Regions from separate parts of the Homo sapiens genome. Here all the other regions are linked to region 3. Evidence: promoter capture Hi-C in 16 types of primary human blood cells and fetal thymus (Javierre and others, 2016). All regions are on one chromosome and are shown on one strand. Each heading gives the region's core, a stretch centred on a gene start or on the middle of the fragment in contact. The rest is flanking DNA. Distances are from core to core; before and after follow the strand shown. Region 1 overlaps PPP3R1 (protein phosphatase 3 regulatory subunit B, alpha). Region 2 has its middle 32 kb from the start of DNAAF10. Region 3 holds the start of CNRIP1 (cannabinoid receptor interacting protein 1).

Region 1 (2,700 bases), core at 108-2,607, 140 kb before region 3:
ATTGTGTCTGCCTGCCACCCTAAGGCTTATATTTTGGATACTCAGTATCTGGTACGATTTTCTGACATACACTTTACATATGTATTCACTGATACATTGCCTGGGAGATGGGCCTGAGAGAAGAGCATTTTCTTAGGTATTCGTGGCTGGCAAGAGACCCATGGAGTTTCCTCCTAGTCACTCGCTCCTGAAGAGCTGGGCTCCAACTCTCATGCCACCTAGAACTAGGAATGGTATGCAAGAAAGCTCATGCTCCTTGGATAGTCATCTTGTCTACTTCTAAGACTGTTAGAAGTAGGTTTAAAAAAAGGGCCGGGTGTGGTGGCTTAAGCCTGTAATCCCAACACTGGGAGGCCAACATGGGAGGATCGCTTGAGCCCAGGAGTTCAAGACCAGCCTGGCAACATAACAACACCCTGTCTTAACAAAACAAAAACAGCCAGGTACTGGCATGCATCTGTGGTTCCAGCTACTCTGGAGGCTGAGGTGGGAGGATTGCTTGACCCCAGAAGACTGAGACTGCAGTGAGCTGTGATCATCCCACTGCACTCCAGCCCAGATGAACAGAACAAGACCCTGTCTCAAAAAAAAGAAAAGGAGCTCTGGGCCTTAAATCCATCTACTTGCTTAGGTCTAACAAACCTTTACTCCTGGGATGTTTTAACAAGTCACAGAACCCATTGTAACTAGTGCACATCTGGTGATACAGGTGTTCTGGATATAAAACATCCCCAACTTATCTGGCCCAGGGATGTCATTTGCCAGAGCATCTCAAGTGCCTATTACAGTGATGGACATGTAGTAGGGACTGTAAAGTTGAATAAATGAAAGCAAAGTTACCAAGTAAATGTAATCTCAAGAAATGCCAATTTTACCTTTTAAAAATACTGAATAGCATTTATTATAAAATCACAACCTGCATAAACAGGGTATCACATTAATTTATTAATTATTTATTGGGTAAACACTAAGAGCTAGGTAATACTCTGGACAACTGGGCTGGGGCTATCAGTGAACAAGAGACAAATCACTACCCTTTTGGAGCTTTCATTTTATTCAGTAGTCAGGGAATACAAAATACGTAAGTAAACTGTGTCAGAAAAGAATAAATGCCATTGTAGAAGGAAAAATATAGAGGAGGAAAGAAGAGCCAGGCGTATCTGTATTTTTTAATAGGGTAGCCAGGACAGTTCCTTTTGAGCTAGGCTGTAACTGAACAAACACCTGAAGGCATTAGCTATGAGATACTGGGAAAGGAAAGGGGCAAAAAGGGACTGATAGCGCAAGGGCCTAAGAGACACAAACCCAAGACTCCAGGTACCACCGGAGGCTAACATGGCTGGAGTAGAGAGAGGGGTAGCAGTAAGGGAAGTCATGGCAGGAGGTGATGGGAGAGTACTACAGGAATTTGTAGGTTTTTATAGAGATTAAATGTCACTTTACCAGACTGTTTTTAAGAATTTAAAAGCCTGAGAGGAAAAAAAATTCTCATAGCTATGGAAACCATCAAAGACCACTGAATACATTCAAGCAAGTTTCAAATATTTTATTTTCTTATTCATACAGTATGAAGTTTTCTAAAGATCCCACAACATGACGTATCATGCAGAAGAAAAACTAAACATTCAACATAAACCATCCCCTCCCTTACCCACCCCCACACACAAACTAAAAAAAAAAAAAAAAAAAAAGAAAAAGAAAAAACCCTCATTCCCCGGTAAGGAAATAATGTTTACACTATTTTTCTGTAACGCCAGCCAAGATATGCACAAGCAAGAGAAATAGAAAGCATTTGCTAAAATATTTGTAACAAATACTTATGTACAAAAAATTCACAAAAGGCTAGTTCCCCCTTGAAGCAGAGCACATGGCAGTTGACACTGGAACAGTTCAAACCACTGGCTGGGATTATAAGCCATGCCACTGATCCAGAGGAAGAAAGTTACATGTAGTGGAGATTTTCAGTCTGAACATTAACATTTCCAAAGTTTGGCAACATTATCTTTTAAAATTATGCAAATTATGTAAACAAGAGGTACATTTTAAATTGATCTACATGCAAAACTCCATGTCATGCAAGGACACCAAGCACCGGGATTTTTCTCTCACAGACAGAGCCCATGATGTGCAGCACTCAGTTGAAGGAACAGCGATGGCAGGCAGGTGTGCTCAATTTCAGATTGATTCACCTTGATTCAACCTGCCCTTTTCCACTGATTTTAAAACCAGTTTTTATAGAGAAACTATAAAGGGAAAGACTACTGTCATACAAAGCTAACCAAAATGTTTTTCTTCCAGCTAACAGTACCTTTGCAGAAATGGGAAGGGATAAGATCAAACAGTAGAACATGATACACTACTTTTATATCACACAAATTTATTAAGTTATCCATTACCAATTATATGGGCAAATCAAGAAAAAAAAACCAGTATGCATGCTCTATCCCTCGTGGTAAAGAAATTTAAGTGGCATAAATTTGGATACAATTTTGCTCTTCTGTGGCATATAGATTAGCAAGATTTCTCACACTTAAACCACAAATATATGTGGGTGTTTAGATACATACATGCATATTAAATATCACCAGTTTTTTAGATTAGCTGCAAGTCTTTTGAAACAAGGGAATTCATGATTCAAACACAAGTTTAATGACAAATTATTTACCCATGTAATCAAACAAATGGATATCCCTTATAAGT
Region 2 (2,700 bases), core at 168-2,667, 190 kb before region 3:
CACATGCCTGTAATCCCAGCTACTTGGGAGGCTGAGGTGGGAGAAGTGCTTGAACCCAGGAGGCGGAGGTTACAGTGAGCCAAGATCACGCCACTGCACTCTTCCTGGGTGACAGAGCAAGACTCAGTCTCAATTAAAATAAAAAAGTGTTGTATAAAGGGTATTGCTGAGTGATCTGGTTTTAAGTTGGCTTAGGGATAGAGTTGGATCAGAACACCATAAGCAAAGTTCAGTTGTTAAAGAATCCTTCATAAAATTCCTCCACCATGACTGTATAAATGCAGCTGTACTTGGTCACAGCCCTTTTACCTAGAATCTCATGCTTCAAGTTAAAAACACAAAGTCAAAATCCTGTTCCTTCATTCAAGCTTGATGTTTGATGTAAAATATACAAAACCTATGGACAACTGCATTAATGGCCATGCACTGTGAGGATAATCTGCATCTGCTTTCACTGTGCTGTCCTGATTAATAACCATTTTTCTGGTTCTGGGGTTGAGGACAAGGGTTTAGCCTCTAGATCCCTACACAGTAACAAAGATTCACAGTTTTCATACTGCCATTTGTCCATCCTAGACCCAGTAGGGAAAATGGATGAGTAAAGAATTTCTCACCACTCCAGGCAATATGCAGGTACTTAGGGTGGAATAATAGAGGACATTGTCCTAGCAGCCCTGAGTCCTCAGCTGGTTGGACAATGCACAGGACTTCTGTTAGCAGGTCCTGATAAGTCTGAGTGCAGCATGGGCCCAGTGCCCCCAAGCTCTCAGAGCAGCATTAAGCCCCGTTTTATTGGGACTGCTGGGTATGGCCCTGAGAATGGCGCCTGGCAGTCTAGTCTCATCCAAAGCAGGGAGGTGGGGCTCCACAACACAGTGAGAGTGGCCAGACATTCGGAGATAGAGGTTTCCTGGGTAAGCATAACCAACCTGCCTTTTAAAAAAACATAGCTAGCAGATGCCAACGCCACCGGAAGCCCTGTACTACCAGCGTGGTCAACTCCACCGTGTTCTTAGAAATTGCCATCGACAGTGAGCCCTTGGGCCGCATCTCCATCAAGCTGTTTGCAGACAAGATTCCAAAGACAGCAGAAAACTTCTGTGCTCTGAGCACTGGAGAGAAAGGATTTGGGTATAAGGGTTCCTGCTTTCACACAATTATTCCAGGGTTTATGTGTCAGGGTGGTGACTTCACACGCCATAATGGCACTGGTCCATCTATGGGGAGAAATTTGATGACGAGAACTTCATCCTGAAGCATAAAGGTCCTGGCATCTTGTCCATAGCAAACGCTGGACCCAACACAGATGGTTCCCAGTTTTTCATCTGCACTGCCAAGACTGAGTGGTTGGATGGCAACCATGTAGTCTATGGCAAGGTGAAAGAAGGCATGAATATTGTGGAGGCCATGGAGCACTTTGGGTCCAGGAATGGCAAGACCAGCAAGATCACCATCGCTGACTGTGGACAACTCTAATCAGTTTGACTTGTGTTTTGTCTTAACCACCAGACCATTCCTTCTGTAGCTCAGGAGAGCACCCCTCCACCCCATTTGCTCGTAGTATCCTAGAATCTTTGTACTCCCGCTGCAGTTCCATGCTTTCCTTATTCCCTTCCATGCCTAGCTGGATTGCAGAGTTAAGTTTATGATTATGAAATAAAAACTAAATAATAACAACAGCAACAAAAGCATAGCTAAAAGCCAATTGCCCACATATTTTTCAAACGAGCCATAGCGCCTGATTGCAGATTGCTGTTATAATCAGGTTGCACAACCCAGCTTCATATCCGAAGCCTGCATGTTTCACTTACTTTAGAGGACAGTCTGGTGGCCAAAGGAAAAAAGAAAAACTAATTACAAAGTAGCATTTCCCTGGAAGGTTCCAGGCCACCCCATAAGAATTATTCCAGAAATCCCTTACTAAAACACTCTATAATTTACCACCACACTTAGCGAAGTGCTGTAAGTTAAAGAATGGAAACATATTTGCAGTAAAAATTGCACAATAGCCTAGAGCTTCAGGGTTCTGAGACGGTTGTTTTTTTTTAGGCTTCGCTAAGGTCTGGATGCATTATTTTAAATACTGTCAACACCTGTCTCTAATTCCACTCTCACAGAAAGACTTCAAAACAATTACACAGAATCTCAGATAAATGGAGATGAACAAGGTTCTCATTTGGCAAACCTAGGCATTTTGGCACCTAAGGGTTCATCCCTCACTACATATGAATGATGCGCCATTTTGGTTTTTGCATCAGTTTGGTTTACATGGTCTAGTGCTGGAGAGCCTCATCATTTCTTGGCATACTGAAACACAAAGCCACGGATTAGGAGAGAGGAGAGTCCAATGACTCCTGGTCCAGGAGGCTACCTGTTTTTCACAGGGCATCATTCTCTAGATTCAGGAGAGTAAACCCATTTTATCTCACTTGCCAGCAGTTGGTAGTGGCTCCTAGCAGAGTGTGATAAAGCTTCTGAGGCTCAGGAAGAATGAGTGGCATGATTGATTAGTCATGTCTGCAATAAATTAGGGGAAGGGAAGGGTGTACGTAGATGGGATAGGAGTATCTGCATTTGAAGCAATGTATTTCATCAATTCAAATGAGCACATCCTTCTGCCCATTTATGCATCTTTGAAATTAGGATGCATCTTATAATCACTACACCAGATTGTCTTTTCCAAAACTAGCCACAGTATTT
Region 3 (2,700 bases), core at 80-2,579:
ACCGTGAAACTAGGCCAGAGAAGGGGCGGCCGCTCTCTTACTAGTGTCTGCTGCTCCACCCCAGGGTCCCAGCCACTGAATGGCGAAGGGAGTGGGGAGCATCCCTCAGGGAGCCCCAGTAATCACCCCTCCCCTGCCTTTCCACCTCATTCCTCCTTTCTCCCTCCTTCAGCCTTGCGGGCAGACCCTGTGGGCCGCCTGGACCGCGCGCAGGAGGGCTGGGATTGCGGTGGCTGAACCCTGCGGACCTCTCCCATCTGCTCCACCCCGACCGCCTGCGGTTCCGCGCCCAAGGCTGGACAGAAGGCAGGAGAAATTTATAAGAAACAGACAAGCAAAAACCCTGGCTTCTTGTCACTGATTTTAAAGAACCCACTGAGGTCACTGCGATGGGTGGAGGGAAGCGAGAATGGAGGAATACAAGCCAAAGGGAAGGAAGGGGACGAAGGCGGACAGGGAGTGACCTCTTCCTCCAACCCCCGGGCCCGCTGGGAGCGGCGCGAGGCCAGAGGCCCTTGAGAGGCTCGGGCTGTCCTGGGGGCCTCAGTCCTCTGCCTGTACCCCATGGGGGACCCTGCTGCCACCAGGCGCCCCGCACTCACTCGACCTGCAGCGTGCTGGGTTTAATCTTCACCTCAACCTTGTAGGAGGAGCCGGTGAGCAGCTTGATGGTGCGGTTCTGGCCGAAGCGCTGCCCGTCCACCTTGTAAAAGACCGGGCCGTCATTAGGCTGGATGCGCAGCGCGATGGAGAGGCGCACGAGGCCCGGCAGGTCCCCCATGTCTGGGCGAGGGTCTGGCGCGGCGGCTCCGGGGGGCGGAGGACAGCGCCGGCTGCGGCCGAGTGGCTGGAGCGCGAGGGGCGGAGAGGAAGCGCGGGGAGGGTGAGGGAGGTGGTGGAGCTGAGGCTGCCGCTAGGAACCCGCGCCGTCGCCGCCGTCCGCCCGGGCTTTTGAGGAGCAGCTCCTTAGGCTGTGGCCCCCCTCCCCACTCGGCGAGGAAGCGGGCCCAAGAGACGGCTCCAAGGCCGCGCGCTTCCCCATCCCCCGCTCCAGTGCTGCGCCCTCCACGCACCCGAAGGCTCGCTCTGGCCCGCAGGCCGCCGCGCAGATCCGCGCAGCTGGGGGCGAGGGAGTTAATCCTGTTTACGCACCACAATCCCCTTCAGCTGGGGAAGCGGACATTTAGGCTCCTCCTAGAACAGCCCCGGGCAGGAGGAGGAGAGGTTTGGGAGGCACTGGGAAGGCGCTGGAGTTAAGCGACCACTATGCCAAGGAGCGAGACCCCCGGAATCTGGATACCGCCTCGGCCAGCTACGTGAGGTGGACACTGCTGCTCGCGGATCCGGCGCCAGCCAGGCGGGAGGAGGCTGAGGGGGGGTAAAGGGAGGCGGGAAGGGGGGACAGGAAACCGCTAGCCGGTGATTTAAATTTCAGGAAATATGAGTCTTTCCAAAGCTTAGGGGAAATGGCCGAGGAAAGGCGCAATTCCACGTGATGGAGCCACGCTGGATGAGGAATGGATGCAAGAGGAAGAAAATAACCATATTCAAGGAGCTACATCTTCTTGTGGGTGTACATTTCCATTATACGTATGCTCGTCCCAAAAATGACACATACATAAATATATGTAATGAATCACATATATTTACACAGATTTTGAAGGGTGAGCTATTAACCCTGTAAAAGGCAACTGACATGAGCCTAAGGCATTCTGGTGACAAAATGGCCAAGAGGTGGGATGGGTCAAAGGATTATTGGCAGGGGGCCATATGCGACACCGCAGAGTTTAGATTTGCATATTAAGCGTGATTAGACAGTTTTCGTGGCAGAGGTCGGTAGACAGCTGACTTTTGGAAGCGAGGGGAGACTCAGGGGGTGAGGACTATACTGGGAATGGCTTCCCGGAGCAGAGAGAGCACCTGCTTCAGCACCACCCAGATGGATAGTACCAGAGCCAGGGAGCACACCTGGGAAATGAAGTGGGCTAGTGAGAACAAATGGGTAGGGATGCGTTTCCTTGGCAGTTTTTGTTTACCCAAGTTAGACTGCTCTTTTTTAAGAAATAATAAGCTATACATATAATATATATGTAATATGGGTGTTTATTGCAACATTGGTTGCAAAAATAAAAATAAAACCTAAATGAAATGTTAACCAATAAATAAATGGCTGAATAAATTCTTATATACCCACACTATAGAACGTTACACAACTATCAAAATAATGAAATATAGGTTGCATTGGCAAACACACAGGCAAAAACTGTTAATGATAAAAGTGGGATGGCTGGGAAACAAAGCCTGAGGGCGAGCATTTTGTCTGTTTTGTTTGTTGCTGTTTCCCCAGCATGCCAAAATAGTGCCTGACACATAGTAGGTGCTCCAGAAATCGTTGTTGAATTGACTTACGGTTGTGGTCTTAATCATGTCCATATGTAAATTCTTTCACATCTTTAAAATTAATTAGATCCTTGCGATTTACCTGGAATGATGAAAAGAAATCTAATTGCAAGTAGCATCTCTAGTGTTTTAGAAAAATGAAAATTTAAAAAGAATATAAATGTGTATGTTTGTATTAGCTCTTTTAAAAGAATGAGAGAGTTACACAGTAAACTTAATGTTGGTTATTATGGTTTATGAGTAGTGGAAAGAGGGTGAGTATCTTTTTGGGGTCATTTAAAAGCCTTTTTGGAAATTTTG

Evidence for each region. The method cuts DNA at HindIII sites, captures the fragments that hold promoters and counts their contacts. A CHiCAGO score of 5 or more calls a contact.
Region 1: a fragment that was not itself captured here is called in contact with the fragment with the promoter of CNRIP1 in region 3 in 1 of 17 cell types (erythroblasts); the score reaches 5.4 in erythroblasts.
Region 2: a fragment that was not itself captured here is called in contact with the fragment with the promoter of CNRIP1 in region 3 in 10 of 17 cell types (M0 macrophages, erythroblasts, endothelial precursors and 7 more); the score reaches 8.2 in M0 macrophages.

The regions. Positions count from the first base shown.
Region 1 is chr2:68,177,326-68,180,025 of GRCh38, forward strand. It overlaps PPP3R1 (protein phosphatase 3 regulatory subunit B, alpha), which reads right to left. Exons shown (of 6, transcript NM_000945.4): 6 at 1,532-2,700. Among named protein-coding and RNA genes, the nearest start is that of PNO1, 21 kb to the left of the region's middle. The HindIII fragment of the contact is 4,701 bases long and covers 1-2,700 here.
Region 2 is chr2:68,124,272-68,126,971 of GRCh38, forward strand. It overlaps the pseudogene PPIAP64. Among named protein-coding and RNA genes, the nearest start is that of DNAAF10, 32 kb to the right of the region's middle. The HindIII fragment of the contact is 2,103 bases long and covers 367-2,469 here.
Region 3 is chr2:68,318,620-68,321,319 of GRCh38, forward strand. It overlaps CNRIP1 (cannabinoid receptor interacting protein 1), which reads right to left and starts at 1,330. Exons shown (of 3, transcript NM_015463.3): 1 at 603-1,330. The coding sequence starts at 781. The HindIII fragment of the contact is 3,613 bases long and covers 1-1,454 here.